Regions from separate parts of the Homo sapiens genome. Here region 2 is linked to region 1. Evidence: promoter capture Hi-C in 16 types of primary human blood cells and fetal thymus (Javierre and others, 2016). All regions are on one chromosome and are shown on one strand. The core of a region is centred on a gene start or on the middle of the fragment in contact, and the rest is flanking DNA. Distances in the headings are between cores, read along the strand shown. Region 1 holds the start of YPEL4 (yippee like 4). Region 2 holds the start of RTN4RL2 (reticulon 4 receptor like 2).

What was found. The method cuts DNA at HindIII sites, captures the fragments that hold promoters and counts their contacts. A CHiCAGO score of 5 or more calls a contact.
Region 2: the fragment with the promoter of RTN4RL2 here is called in contact with the fragment with the promoter of YPEL4 in region 1 in 5 of 17 cell types (neutrophils, fetal thymus, naive CD4 T cells and 2 more); the score reaches 9.1 in neutrophils.

What each region holds. Positions count from the first base shown.
Region 1 is chr11:57,647,612-57,654,402 of GRCh38, reverse strand. It overlaps YPEL4 (yippee like 4), which reads left to right and starts at 4,491. Exons shown (of 5, transcript NM_145008.3): 1 at 4,491-4,718. It overlaps MIR130AHG (MIR130A host gene), which reads right to left. Exons shown (of 2, transcript NR_186232.1): 2 at 1,502-4,105. RefSeq lists an enhancer at 5,980-6,119. The HindIII fragment of the contact is 14,007 bases long and covers 1-6,791 here.
Region 2 is chr11:57,459,186-57,466,931 of GRCh38, reverse strand. RTN4RL2 (reticulon 4 receptor like 2) reads right to left here and starts at 6,404. Exons shown (of 3, transcript NM_178570.3): 1 at 6,036-6,404. The coding sequence starts at 6,066. RefSeq lists enhancers at 1,915-2,510, 2,560-3,064, 4,154-4,692 and silencers at 6,128-6,397, 7,497-7,556. The HindIII fragment of the contact is 14,932 bases long and covers 1,069-7,746 here.

The sequences.
Region 1 (6,791 bases), core at 3,242-5,741:
GCTTCCAAACTTTCTTTCTTTCTTTCTTTCTCTCTCTCTCTTTCTTTCTTTTTCTTGAGACATAGTTTCGTTCTTGTTGCCCAGGCTGGAGTGAAGTGGCGCAATCTCGGCTCACTGCAGCCTGCGCCTTCCGGGTTCAAGCAATTCTCCCGCCTCAGCCTCCCAAGTAGCTGAGATTACAGGCGCCCGCTGCCATGCCCAGCTAATTTTTGTATGTTTAGTAGAGAAGGAGTTTTGTCATGTTAGCCAGGATGGTCTTGAACCCCTGACCTCAGGGTCATCTGCCCGCCTCAGCCTCCCAAAGTGCTGGGATTACAGGTGTCCGGCCTGCTTCCAAACTTTGAATCCGAGCTGGGCCCAGTGACTCACGCCTGTAATCCCAGCACCTTGGGAGGCCAGGGTGGGTGGATCACTTGAGATCAGGAGTTCGAGACCGGCATGACCAACATGGTGAAATCCCGTCTCTACGAAAAATACAAAAATTAGCCAGGCATGGTGGCACATGCCTGTAATCCCAGCTACTCAGGAAGCTGAGGTGGGAGAATCACTTGAACCCGGGAGCCGGAGGTTGCAGTGATTCTCGATCATGGCATTGCACTCCAGCCTGGGAAACAGAGCGAGATTCCATTTCAAAGAACAAACAAACAAACAAACAAAACAAAAGAACTTTCGATCCATGCCTTGAAAACTAATCATTTGCCTTTTCCCACTTCTCATTGTTCTCCTCAACAATTGCTTTTCAAAATCTTTTTTTTTCTTTTTTTTTTAAATTTTATTATTATTATACTTTAAGTTTTAGGGTACATGTGGTGCACAACGTGCAGGTTTGTTACATATGTATACATGTGCCATATTGGTGTACTGCACCCATTAACTCGTCATTTAGCATTAGGTATATCTCCTAATGCTATCCCTCTCCCCTCCCCCCACCCCTCAACAGGCCCCAGTGCGTGATGTTCCCCTTCCTGTGTCCATGTGTTCTACTTTTATCTCCCCTCTCTTCTGCTGCCCAAACAAAAGCACTTCTCTCTTCTTTCTTTACCTAGCTTTTTCTCTCAATTCCAAATCTCTAGTACTATCCCTCAAGACACCCACATTGTCTTTTCAGAATTTACTTTAAACCCCAGAATCTTCCCTGATTAAATATTTAGAATCCCTTTTTATTTTCATGCTCAACTAGCAATGTCTCCCATTACCCACATTTCTCTGCCTTAACTTTTTTTTCCCTCTTTACGTGTGAGAAGAAAAACAAACCACCCCCAAGCACTGCTTTCTAGAAGTCCCTATCTTTGTCGTACTTCATTTGCTAAATGCTAGACTCTGTTAGAAATCAGGGTTTTTGTCTTAGGGGATATGTTCTGTGTTCACATACTTTAGTAACATGCACAGGACAGCACCCCATGAGAAATGAATTCTGAGTCAAATGAAATTTAACTGGAAGCTGCTAGAAAAATAGCAACAAAAGATGTAATGTCTTCATAAGACAAAAATTTGGCATGTGTCTCTTGAGATATCAGAATTTAATAATAAATCCTCCCTGGGTTTTGGGGGTCATACATTGAGAATGCTGTTTTGGTTTCACTTTTGTTTTTTTGGTTTTGTTTTTTTTTTTGAGACGGAGTCTCTCTTTGTTGCCCAGGCTAGAGTGCAGTGGTCCCATCTTGGCTCACTGCAACCTCCGCCTCCTGGGTTCAAGCGATTCTTCTGCCTCAGCCTCCCAAGTAGCTGTGATTACAGGCATACGCCATCACACCTGGCTAATTTTTTGTATTTTTAGTAGAGAGGGGGGTTTCACCACGTTGTCCAGGCTGGTCTCGAACTCCCAACCTCAGGTGATTCGCCTACCTCGGCCTCCCAAAGTGCTGGGATTACAAGGTGTGAGCCACCTCACCCAGCCAAGAATGCTTTTTTTTTTTTTGAAACAGAGTCTCGCTCTGTCACCAGGCTGGCGCGATCGGCTCACTGCAACCTCTGTGAGTACAGTGGCGCCATCTCAGCTTACCGCAACCTCTGACTTCCTGTTCAAGCGATTCTCCTGCCTCAGGCTCTCGAGTAGCTGGGATTACAGGCACGTGCCACCATGTCCAGCTAATTTTTGTTATTTATTAGGGATGGGGATTTCACCATGTTGGCCAGGATGGTCTCGATCTCCTGACCTTGTGATCTGCCTGCCTCGGCCTCCCAAAGTGCTGGGATTACAGGCGTGAACCACCGCACCTGGCGAGAATGTTGTTTTGAAATGACACTACTGTTTACTGCCTATCATGTGCCAGGCATTTTTCAGGCATTTAAATGTTATCTCACTTTATTCTGCATCTCCATGAGCTAATAATAATAAATATTATTAGCTTCATTTAGCAGAAGAGTAAGACTAAGGCACAAAGATTATCAGTAATTTGCCTAGTGGTTCCTGCCAAGTAATTGGCAGAGCTAAGAGTCTAATTCAGTCTCTTTGAGACCAAAGCCAGACACTTGGTTCATGTCTGAAGATGCAACTCAACTGCTCTATTAATCAGAGTTCTCTAGCGGGATAGAACTAATAGGATAGATGTATATATAAATCAGAGTTATTACGGAATATTGACTCAGATGATCACCAGATGAGGTCCCACAGTAGGCTGCCTGCAAGCTGAGGGGCAAGGAAGCCAGTCCGAATCCCAAAGTTGAAGACCTTGGAGTTCAATATTCGAGGGCAGGAAGCGTCCAGCATGGGAGAAAGACGTAGGCTCAGAGGCTAAACCAGTCTGGTCTTTCCACGTTCTTCTGTCTGCTTTTATTCTGGCCTAGCTGACAGTTGATTACATTGTGCCCATCCAGATTGAGGTGGGTCTGCCTTTCCTAGTCCATTGACTCAAATGTTAATCGCCTTTGGCAATACCCTCACAGACACACCCAGGAACAATACTTTGCATCTTTCAATCCAATCTAGTTGACAATATTAACCATCACCAGTCCACCCCTTGTCAACTTGAACCCATACACGTCTCCTGAAATCATACATGATCTTCAAATAAAGACAATAATAAGGTCATAATTACGCTTAACATAATACAGCTATCCTTTGTACAACCGGAAACGCACCAATCCCCAACCCAAATGCTATTACATAGAGTTAACAACACTTAAGTGCTGATATCAAGTCAGTAAGTCTTATGTCACATGATAAAGGCAAAAGAAAGGAAATAAAATGAAGATATTTTCTTAATACAAGTGTATATATGCACAAACATGTTCCTAACAAAAGGAGGAGGAAATACTCATGACAATTACAGTCCTCATTTTCTGCAGCTGGTCACATGGTCATAGTTCGTATTGATGACTACCTTCTTTGACTACCCATTCTGAATTCCGTTTGCCTTCAGCAAGCACCTCAGCAGATTATGTTTTTTTTACCTGGTGGAGTGACCCAAACCTTCATTCCTGAAGGGTCTGGGCCATTTGTCATCCTGCCTGGATTGGGCTGTTGCAGTTTCCCATTGACCTTAATCACAGGGCATGGTAATATTAAGAGACGCCCTACGTGATCTCCTGTATTCCACGCATACTTCCTTACCGCCATTGTGGAGTAGTAGACTGATTTCATCTTGATAGTCTGGGTCAAACACTGTAACTCCCTTCTTAGCAAGTTGGCTTAAAAGTAAGAAGAGCCCAAAGTGGCCAGGTGGCAATCTTAACTTCCAGTTTAATGGAATCATTGTTGTGTCTCTTGGTGGCAGCATTCCTCCCTCTGGAACTAAGACCTCTAGGCCAGCAGAACATAATGCCGCGGAAACAACTGCTATTTTGGAAACATCTAAATGCACGGGTCTGCACTGGACATTGCAGTCCTGGGATGTAGAGAGTAATTTCCCAGAAGGCCTGTCTCAGGAAGTTTACAGCCCAATAGAGAACTTCATATAACGTAGGTGTCTCCATTCATGAAGCACGCATAATATGGAGGTAGCTGTTAAGGGGTTCCTGCATGCAAAATGTCACATTGGGTCTATTACTCCTTCAGGAGTATTAAACCAAGGCTTTGAGGCTTGGTACAAGTTTGGGGGCACAGTTTGCCATCCATGACAATTAGTACATCTGTCTTTTCCCTGCTTCAGGGCTGGTGTCCAAGCTGAAATGGGAAAGTGTATCATCTTAAATGTGTGTGTGCTCCCTCACTCTGCATCCATCTCTTCCTTCACCAGCCTTGCCACCTCCTTTCCTCCAGCCCTGCCACCCTCACTGCATCCTTGCCCAGCCCTGTCCTTCCCCCAGGTTCTTCGTATCTCCTTGGCCCCACTGCCTTCCTCCTTAACAACCTGCCTCTCCCCTTGCCCACCATCGCCGCCTTGTCCCTCGGCCCCCACTCCTCTAGCCCCGTCCCTTGATGCCTACCCCCTCCCTTCCTTCCGACCCGCCTCCTGTGTCTCCCAGCCCTGCTCTGACGTGGGAGGTGAGGGGGGGTGGGGGGGATGGATGACTCACAGTGTTATGATGCAGTTCCACAACACACAGCCACATTCACCCACAGACCGAGGTACAGAACGAGAGACAACCTCTGCCCCCCCAGCAGCTGGCCAGCTTTGCAGCCCCAGTCTTGAGCCCCCAACTACCCTCCCCCCACCCACCCCCATCCCCTTCCCAATTGAAGGAGCGGAAAGAGAAGAGAGAAGAGTGAGCAGAGAGATTGAGAGATTGAGAGAGAGAGAGAGAGATAGACGGAGATCTCTGGAGCAGACCTCAAGGTGAGGGGGCAGCCCTTCTCCAAATGAATTTTTTTCTCTTTGCAAATTTCCTCCTCCTGCTGCGTGTTGCTTTCTCCCCTTTGCAAAAGCATTATTCATCCACCCTTTGTCCTCCCTTCCCCCTCCCCGCTGCCTCCGCTCCTCTCTCTCGGTTCCTCCATCCCTCTCCAAGCTCTGACGATTCCCGCACTTATTTCCCGGCAACTTTGGCTGCAGCATCAGGCATCACTGTTTATTGTTTTGCTGCTGGTGCAGACCCCCAAAGCCTGCCCTGGGAGCTGGCGGTGCTGCTAATTATTTGGACCATACCATACTGAGAATACCAGCCTGGGGGGTGCCAAAACCTCAGAGCAGATGAGAAAATCCATTGTGAGCAGGTGTCCCCCCCCTTTTCTTTTCCCCCCTGAGAAGCACGAGATTCGCACCTGGTTCCTCCAGCCTCCGCCTCGGCGCCTCTGCTGTCAGCTGTCAGTTGCCCCCGCCAGCCCTCCCTCTCCCCTTTCTCCTACGGTCCAGCCCCGTCTCACTTCAGGGGAACATCTCTCCCCAGCACTCGGCTTGCCTTTGTTTTTTCTCCAGTCATTTGCCCAACTTGCTTCTCCCTGTGATCCGAGATGGGTGAAAAAATGACCCCTACTCCCCTTTGTGATTCTCTGGCCTTCTGTGCAGCCTTTCCTTGGCTTGACTGGGAATTAGGGGAGAGGGAGGGAGGCGTGACGGCCGGAGGCTGGAGAAGGAGCTCAGGATTGGGGACCCAAGCTGCCCCATTCTCCATGCCCCTTGAAGAAGGTGTTTCAAGGTGGTGCATGTCAGAGGGGAACTCGCTGGCAAAGTTGAAGGCAAACCTGTGAAGCAGAGACTGAAAGGTGGTCTCTTGGCAAGGAGGGCCCGTTTCCTGCAGCCGGAGCCCAATGTCACCCTGAACTCAGCCCAAGGTGTCTTCCTGGGACCCAGCCCGGAGGAGAGGACCTGAAACTGAAGATAGTCTCTATGGAGGTTTTGCGGAGAGACTGCCTGGCGGCCTTCAGAGAGAGTGGAACAGCTGGGTGCCTGTGGCCACTGCGGAGGACAGGACGAGGAGAGCCTGTATGCCCTGGCTAACCAGAGCCAACACTGCCTCTTCTCTGCTTAGTGCTCTAGCATTGCCAGAGTGCCCAGCTGGCATCTCTGAACCAGACTTAGGCTAACCACCCACAGTGGGCTGGGAAGCCCTATGAAGGAGAAAGCAGCAGCTCACCTGCTTATCGGAGCCAACAGGGGCCACCTCCCTTCTTATCCTCTGCCTCCAGCACCTTCAGCCACTCGGAGGCTGGCGCGTGGGCAGAAGGCAATCTTCCTCTATTCCTAATCAGAACCCAGCAATTACTTCATCTTCAGTCACCCACAGAGTCACTGCTGTTTGTCCCTGCCCCTGGGAGAAGGTAGAAAGAAACATTTTCTGCCTTGTGCCCCAAAGCACAGCTGTTAAAAATAAGAGTCCCCCTTCTGCTGTTCGTTGTGGCCGTTGCTCTCACCCTACCACACAGCCCTGCCCAGCCCAGGAATCAGGCTCCTCTGACATGCTACCCATTTCCCATTGGCTCCAGCTGTCAGATTGCCTGAAGAAAATGTATTTTCTGCCTAAGTCTTTAACCAAGGGCTAAGGCAACAGTTAGTAAAGACTAGGAGAGAGAAAGACCAAGGGGCCCACAGGCTGGGAAGACAGGCAGGTGCTTATTCTGGGCCAGAATGAGTGAACCAAGGTGCGAGAATGGGCGGCCACACGTGAGGGCTTTGGTACTGTTGGAAACATCTATAAAGTTCTAGTGAAGAGTCCCAGAGCACAGGACCCTGACCTCAGGAGAGAACCGAATCAGGGTTTGTATACCTGCCTGCATGCTCTCCCTCCCCTCACCTTACACCTCCTGCCCCCCTCCCCAAAATGTATAAAGGACCAATTGTATTGCAAACAAAGACCATGTAAAAGAAAGACCTTCAGGCATCCCCAACTCTTAAAAGGCTCTGATCCCCTGAGACACAGTGCCTGTGCGATGCAGAGCCTCACGAAGAACTGAAAACCAAGGAGAGGGCACT
Region 2 (7,746 bases), core at 5,155-7,654, 190 kb after region 1:
TTCCTCGTTGTGGGGGCAGCCCTATATAAGGCATTTAGCAGCATCTCTGTCTTCTACCCACTAGATGCCAGCAGCACCCTGCCTCCAGTTGTGACAACCAAAATGTCTCCAGACATTGCCAAATGTCCCCTGGGGGGCAAAGTCACCCCATTGGAGAATGACTGGAAGTAACTTGGGACCCTTTGGAGATCTGAGGCCCGTGTGAAATGGACTCACTCTGGGGTCTGGTCTTGCCAGCCCACTGGTGCCCAGTGCCCTTACTTTCCTGTACTTTTCGCCCTTGCAGAGTCAGAGCCTCTTTGTGCCGGGAGGGGCCTTAAGGGTCGGGTCTCTAAGTGAGGCCACCAGCCAGTCCTAGGAACTATGCAGAATTCCTGGGGGGACAGCCTGGGAATCTGCATTTTACACCCCAGGCTCTCCTCATTCGCAGTTACTTAAAAACTTCTTTCTTTTTTTCTTTTGGAGACAGGGTCTTGCTCCATCGCCCAGGCTGGAGTGCAGTGGTACGATCACAGCTTATTGCAGCTTGGATCACTTGGGCTCAAGCAATCCTCCTGCCTCAGCTTCCTGAGGAGCTGGGACCACAGGCCCGTGCCACTGCACCCAGCTAATTTTTTAAAAATTTTTGGCCGGGCGCGGTGGCTCACGCCTGTAATCCCAGCACTTTGGGAGTCTGAGGCGGGTGGATCACGAGGTCAGGAGATCGAGACCATCCTGGCTAACACGGTGAAACCCCGTCTCTACTAAAAATACAAAAAAAAAATTTAGCCGGGCATGGTGGCGGGCGCCTGTAGTCCCAGCTACTTGGGAGGCTGAGACACGATAATGGTGTGAACCTGGGAGGCGGAGCTTGCAGTGAGCCGAGATCGCACCACTGCACTCCAGCCTGGGTGACACAGCGAGACTCTGTATCAAAAAAAAAAAAAAAAAAAAAAAAAAAATTGTAGGCATGGGGTCTTGCTATGTTGCTCAGTCTGGTCTCAAACTCCTGGCCTCAAACAATCCTCCCACCTTGGCCTCCCAAAGTGTTGGGATTTCAGGCATAAGCTACCGCATCCAGCCAAAGCTTTTTTTTTTTTTTCCCCCAAAGTAACTTTTGAAGGTTGGATATGATCCATCCTTATTATGATACTGATGGAAAAGCAGGCCCAGAGAGCCTGGGGGCTAGAGAGTGGAGTGCAGGTGTCTGTACTCATATTTTAATAGGGGTGCAGGGCCTCCCATCATCCCTGGCCTTTGCCGTCACTATAGCTGATAAAGTTCTAGGCCGGAACTAGCTTGACCTCTACACTTTCTTATGATTTCCAGGTGACTCCTGGGATTTTCTTCTGGCAGTTTTGCCTGGGGAAAAAGGGAGCCTGCACCCCCAAAGCCAGGCAGTCATTCCCTGGGCACACAGTGACTGAACACCTTCTGCTTCAAGCAACGTCCTAGGCTTTTGAAGGCAGAGGGGAGGAAGACTTGTTTCTGCACTCTGACATCCTGGGGCTCCTTGGGGTTCAGAGACCCTGGGAGAGACTGAGGGGTTGGTGATTTTGAGTGTGGGGTCTCCAAGGCTGCAAATTGCACTTGCTTAGTGGTGGTTTTGTGTGTGTTGTGTCACGCTCCTGAGGTTGCCGTGTGCGTGAATGTGTGTATGTATCTGTGATTTTGGGTAGTGGCGTGAGCCAGGTGCTCACCAAATGCAGTGCTGCTCAGCCAGGTGTGCACGCATGGGACTGACAGGCCCCGAGTGTGGCGCTGGCATCCCAGCTGCCCTGGTGTTCCTCCTCCAGAGGGGGGAGCACACAGGTGCGGGGTGGAAGATCCACACTCCCAGTGTGCTGCTCCTCGCTTTTGGGCCCCACCGTGAGTGTCCCCGGCCCCTCCTGGCGCTGCGTCGGTGCTGCGTCGGTGCGTGCTGGCTGTCCTCCGCGTGTGTGTGAGCGCCGGGCCCCGTGCGTGTGTAGGCTGGGTGTGATGTAATACTCAGTGACACAGCGGCTGCTGTTCCATTCGTTCACACCACCTCCGCGTTTCTCGGCCCTTCTCACCCCTCCCCCGTGCGGCGTTTCACGATTACTTTCTCCTCCCGAGTTTCTTAGACCCACGTGGGGTGGAGGAGCAATGTCTCTCACCCCTCATCTGAACCAGGCAGAGGTGGAGTGTGGAAGCACAGTGGGGACCCTGAGTGGGTTTCATGAGGGTTGAGGTTTGGGGCTTAGAACTGGAGATTTCAAAGCCGCAAAGGTCCCCTCGATTCCTCTGGTTCAAGCATCAGTTCTACTGAGGTGATGACTGGAGCTCAGAGAGAGCAAGCGACTTACCCAAGGTCACACAGCAAAGTGTTGGCAGGGAAAGGGCCAGAAAAGTCTCTTGATGCCCAGCCAGGGCACTTCCCTTCCTATCAGAGTCACCCTCTGATCTCCACTTCCCTAAGGACTTGACACCAAAAGAAGCCAAATCCTTCTCTGATCCCTTAATCCTACCCCTTATCCACAAGCTCACCAGAGTGTGAGCCCTGATGGCCGCTAGCCCCTGGAGGATTACAGAGCTTTCCCCCAGCCTCCGGACTGACCGCTGCCCCAGGAGAGACAGAGGGAAGGATGTGCAATCTCAGAGGCAAGGCCCATTCCCCTGGCATCAGGGTTCCTTCCGGCCTTGAGGGTAAACTCTGCAGGAGCTGGCAAGGGTGCCTACTCCTCTTTCTCTCCCTAGACTCTCCTGCTCCCCACCTGCCCACATTAGACTACTTCTCTTCTCTTTCCCCACTCTCCTTCCATCTTGTTCCCATGTCTCCCCCAACCAGGGCTCACCTCCCCCAGCCCATGATAGTGGTCCCTGCAGGCTCTCTGAAGAGCGACCCCGTGCTGGGGGCTCCTCCATAACAGCTGCTGCATAACAGTGACTCTGTTGCCATTTCTGGCCCTTGCCACTGCCGTGCAAAGCAGCTGTAACCCAAGGAGCTCATCCATAATTCACGCAGCGGCTCTCACTGGAGGCAAGGAGGAGGGGAGGGGAGGGGGCTCTGGGCTTCACTGCCCCAGGCCTGCTGGGGCTGGAGCGAGCACTCCAGGGCAGAGGTGGTGGGACTGGGGGGTTGGGGGACTAGAGAGCTGTGCCTTTCCCTCTCTCCCCCGCCCTCAGTCCCTGCCCTGCCCAGTGTGTGCCCTTTTCTTTCTTGCCACGTCCCTTCCCCACCCCCTGTTCTCACTCCTCCTCAGCACCACCACTCCTTCCCTCCAGGCCCAGGCCTCCTGTCTCTCCCGAGGACCACGGCTCCACTCCTGGCCTTCATTTTGTGAATTCCCGGTGGAGACTGGGGCAAGATGCACAGAGTATCAGAGCTGGAAAGGGGGATACCTCGGTGGCCACCTAGAGCCGACCCCTCACATCATAGGTAACACCATTGAGGGCTGGGGAGGGGAAGTGTGAGTTTCTGAGCACCCCAGGCCTCCTGACCAGGTCTCTACAGCTCGCCTTCATTGTCTTTCTCAGAAGCCTTCATTTCATCCCTCCACTACTTCATGGACAGAGGAAAGCCCTTTGTAGCAGCCTCCCCCACCCTCTCTGCTCACCCCCTCCTCTAAAGTCAGCAGGGGATGGCTAGAGCTGCAGGGGAGAGTACAGCAGGGTAGGAGGAAACCAAGAAGCACCTATTTTGTCCTAGGCACTGCATTTGTACAGGTTAACTTCTTTATACATTGAACACAACACACATAATCCCCTGGAGGTCAATATTGTGGCCCCCAATTTGCAGATGAAGGAAGGGAGCCCCAGAAACATGACACAGTGGCCTCAGGTCATGCAGCTAGTACAAGGTGGAACCCAGATTGGAAAAGAGGGACATCAAGCCCATGTCAGAGAGACACTCTGATCTTTCTTTAAGAGGTGGCCACATCCTCCGCAGAAACCACGCCTGAATGTGTGAGACACTGCCCTTGAGGTAAAGACAGGAGAGAAATTGCACCCAGGTGCCTAGGGCTGGGCCAGCCACAATGCTGAGTCTGTTTGGCTATTCAGGGTCAAGGCAAGGAAGGGACTCCAGCTCTCTCTGCAACTTTCACCTCCTAGGCTTCCAGTTGCGGTTGTTCTAGAGTAGTGATTACATGTGGGAGTCAAGAAGAGATGACCCCTGTCCAGAATATATGGCCAGAACTGACCAGGGGAGGGAGCCAAGAGAGGCCAGAACATGGTATTGATCCCGGAAGGCTGAAGTGTCCAGAGCCAAAAGTATCTGTTCACTGAGGGACCACTGTCCAGGACTCTGGCTATCAAACCTTGGAGTACCAAGGCTCAGAAACAAAGTTCTCAGCCCACAGGCCACTCTTTGGGCCGGAGGCCCCTGTAGAAGAAGGAACTTGAGGAGAAGAAAACTGGACCCAAAGTAGGGGGCAGGATCCAGGCTACCCACCCACAGGGCAGAGTCGCTGGTGCAGAGTGGTCCCAGGAAAGGATGCTCCCTGGAAAGGCAGCAGAGGCCTCTCGCTCTGGAAGGAGGGGCACAGGGTCCCAGACGAGAAGCAAGGGCTCCACACCCAACGGGCTGCTTCAGGGAAGGGCTGGGGCCTGCGGGCAGATGCTGAGGGGGCAGGGGCTGAGGAGGTGGGAGCTGAGGAGTGGGATGGAGGTGGTGGTGATGCCAGTGACGCAGGGGCCTGGGGAGGCACTGACGCGGGTGACGGAGGTTTAGAGCTGCTGCAAACAGCTTCTCACTCTGCCAGAATGTAACACCCCAAAATAAGCAGCCACCGTGGTGGCGGCAGCGGCTGCAGAATCCAACGTCCAGGCCGGATAAATAAATGGCAGCACAGGAGCCAGCCTGTTTGCCCACCCTCGGAGGCTGTCACTCCCCTTCCAAAGTCCTCACCCTCTGTCCCTCACAGCCACCCCCAGGGCCCTGAGCTCAAAGCACCCCCCATCTGGCCCACCAGCCACTCCCTGAGAGAAGAAATGTGGCAGGCAGGCGCTTTGGGAATGGAGGGCTTCCCACGTGGAAGTGGTTACCAGAAGCCTCTTTGTCTCATCCCTGGGCAGCACCCCCAATCCCCAGTCCCTCTCTCTCAGCCTTTCTCTTCCTCCTCCTCTTCCCTCCTCTCCAGCCCCTCTCCCATCCATGGTTCCCTGTCTCCAACCCTCTTCGCCGGTTCCTGATACCCCTTCTCTAGTCACCATCCCCATCCTTCTCTGGTTTCTGATCTTTCCATTCTCCTTTTCCATTCCAGTCCCCAGGGTCCCAGTCCTGATTCTCTTTCCCGCTACCTCCATCCCAGGATTCTGGGTCCCTGTCCATAGTCTTCTTCCCATCCCTCCCCTGATCTGGTCTTTCCTCTCCTTCCCTCTTCCTTGGTCTTCACCTGGGTCCCACTTCCCTCCACGCTTTTCCCATCTAACCTTTATTCCTTCTCCCCCTCCCCCGCTCCATCTCCCTCCTCCTTTGAGCTTCCCTCACCACTTTCTCCATCTTTGAGTTCTCCTTCCTATCCCTCTCCCCCTGACCCCTCCCCACCCCACCCCCAGTCTCTGGCCCACACCCTTATCTGTCACTCAATCAGTAGAACTATCCTCTTTCTAGCGCCCTCCATCTCTCCTACCAGAGAGGGCCACTTGGATTTCCCTCTGCGCCTCCTACCTCCCCAGACAGCCCCCTACCCACATCTCCTGTCTTCCCAGGTGGCCAGAAAGTGCTGAGGCACCGGGCAGGAGGAGTTGCTGAGTCGGCGCTTCCCCAGCCGGCCCGAGTCCTCAGCGTCCCCCGGAGCAGGTGGAGCGGGGACAGCGGAACCTGAGCCTCCCTCCCCGCTCCGGGCCGGGTCCACCTGCCCCCTGCGTCCCACCTCGGTCACGAGCTCCTCGCACGCGCCCGCGGGCTCCCAGCCAAGTGCCCTCCTGCTGAGAACAGCCCTGGCGGCGGGGGCGCGGCCCCAGCGCTGAGCTTTTCCCCTTCCCCAGGTTACCCCACCTCCCCAACTGCCCCACCCTCAATCCCTGAAAGAGGGGACGCCCTGCTTCTCTCCCCAGGATGCCCTCCGCTCTCCCGCCGCTGGCGTTCTTACCTTGCAGCAGGCGCCTGAGCCCGGGCAGCATCTTGTCTCGATGCTCGGGGGAGGGGGCAGCGGGGGGAGGGCGCTCCCACTCGCTCCCTGAGCCCGCCGGATGCACGGCGGGGACCCCGCGGGGCTCCGGGAGGGCCCGGGAGTCCCCGGGCTGCGTGGCCGGGCCGCGGCGCTCTACCCTGCGCCGCCCGGGCTGCGGGCCTCGGGAGGAGCCATCGGCCCCGACGGGACGGGGCGGGGCGCGACGGGGCGGGGAAGGCTGGGGCTGGCCGTCGACGCCCAGCGCCCGCGCCCCGCTAGCTGCGCTGTCCGCTCGAGAGTCCGTCAGTCCGTCTGTCCGTGTGCCCAGGCTGCTAGCCGAGGGAGAGTGGGGACAGCGAGGAAGCTCTTCCCAACCACCCCCACTCCTTCCCGCACTCGCTGGCTCCTCCCTCGTTTGCTGGCTTGCCGACTTAACCCTTTCTCGACCACTAGGAGGCGGGAGCGGCTTTCTAACCCCCTCCACCCCGCCCCCCTCCCCCCCGCTTAAGCGACCCGGAGGACTGTGTTCGATCGTCCTCGCGGCGCCACTCTTCTAGAGAAATCCCTTCTTGGGGGAATGCGGTAGTTTAGAGGAACGCCGTGGACTTGTCCTGTTCCCCCCTCCCAACTTTCCAGGAGAAGATGAGCTTCTGGGTCACCCCCTCCCCCGCCCCCAGCCGCGTCCCTCGCGCCAGTGTCCCAGCCTCCAGCATTTCTGTCCCCTGGGACAGCTCCAAGATTCCACTTTTCCTTCCACTCCCAGACCTCAAGCCCAGTGTGCGACTATAAGAATAGTATATGCAAGAGTTTGTGCGTGCAAGATCGAGTGCATATGAGCGTGCACGTGCGCGCAAGGATGCTTGTGCAGGTGTGACTCAGGATGCTTGCCCGTTACCCTTTGTACGGGCTTGGGGAAGCGGGGGGGGGGGCACGTGAGTGTGCACACGGGTGAGCCGCTGAAAGTCCGCCAGCGTGCATGTCTGAGCTGGTGGGAAACGTGAGGCTGTGCGAGGTTTTGCGCTTGCGATCTTGGGGATGGGTGGAAAGAAATATGTGCCCGGTGTGTGTATGCCCCTTAGTGCATTTACAAGCGGGTGCGAGATGGGCGCGCGTGCGAGTGTGTGCGTTTTTTTGTGTATGTATGATGTGTCCGGGAGGGGAGACCTTATCTCCCGCGGGGGTGCAGGAGAGGACCCAAAGCTGGGGAGAAGACTGTTGGCTTCGCGTGAACTTCCTCTACCCCCTTTTAAAGAGGGGCGGATTATGGTCTCACTGGAGCCCCTCTGGCCCTTCATGGCCTGGTCACAGGCGGTATCAGCAGACCCATCACCTAGGCACTTCCCTACAAAGGCTGCAGGGCGGTTGACCCAGGTCTTGACTCGGCCCGGCGCGTCCGCGGAGCCGCCCCGGCGTAGGATAGGCTCGGGGCCCTCGGGGGAGCCGCTTCGGGTACGGTGGCCAGGCAGCGCTGGCGGGGTTGGGGCTGCTGGAGCCTCAGGTGCGGCGGTGCCGGGGCTGCTGAGCCCCCTGGGCTGCCGCTCCCGCGAGCACAGAAGCCCCTCGCCCCGCTGCCCGCGCCGCGGCTCCTCCTTTCCTATCCGTGCCAGGGTCCAATGCAGTGCCTGGCATACAGTCGGCTCTTGATAAATGTTGGTCTTATTCTTCCCATTCATTCTCTGCTCCCTCCACG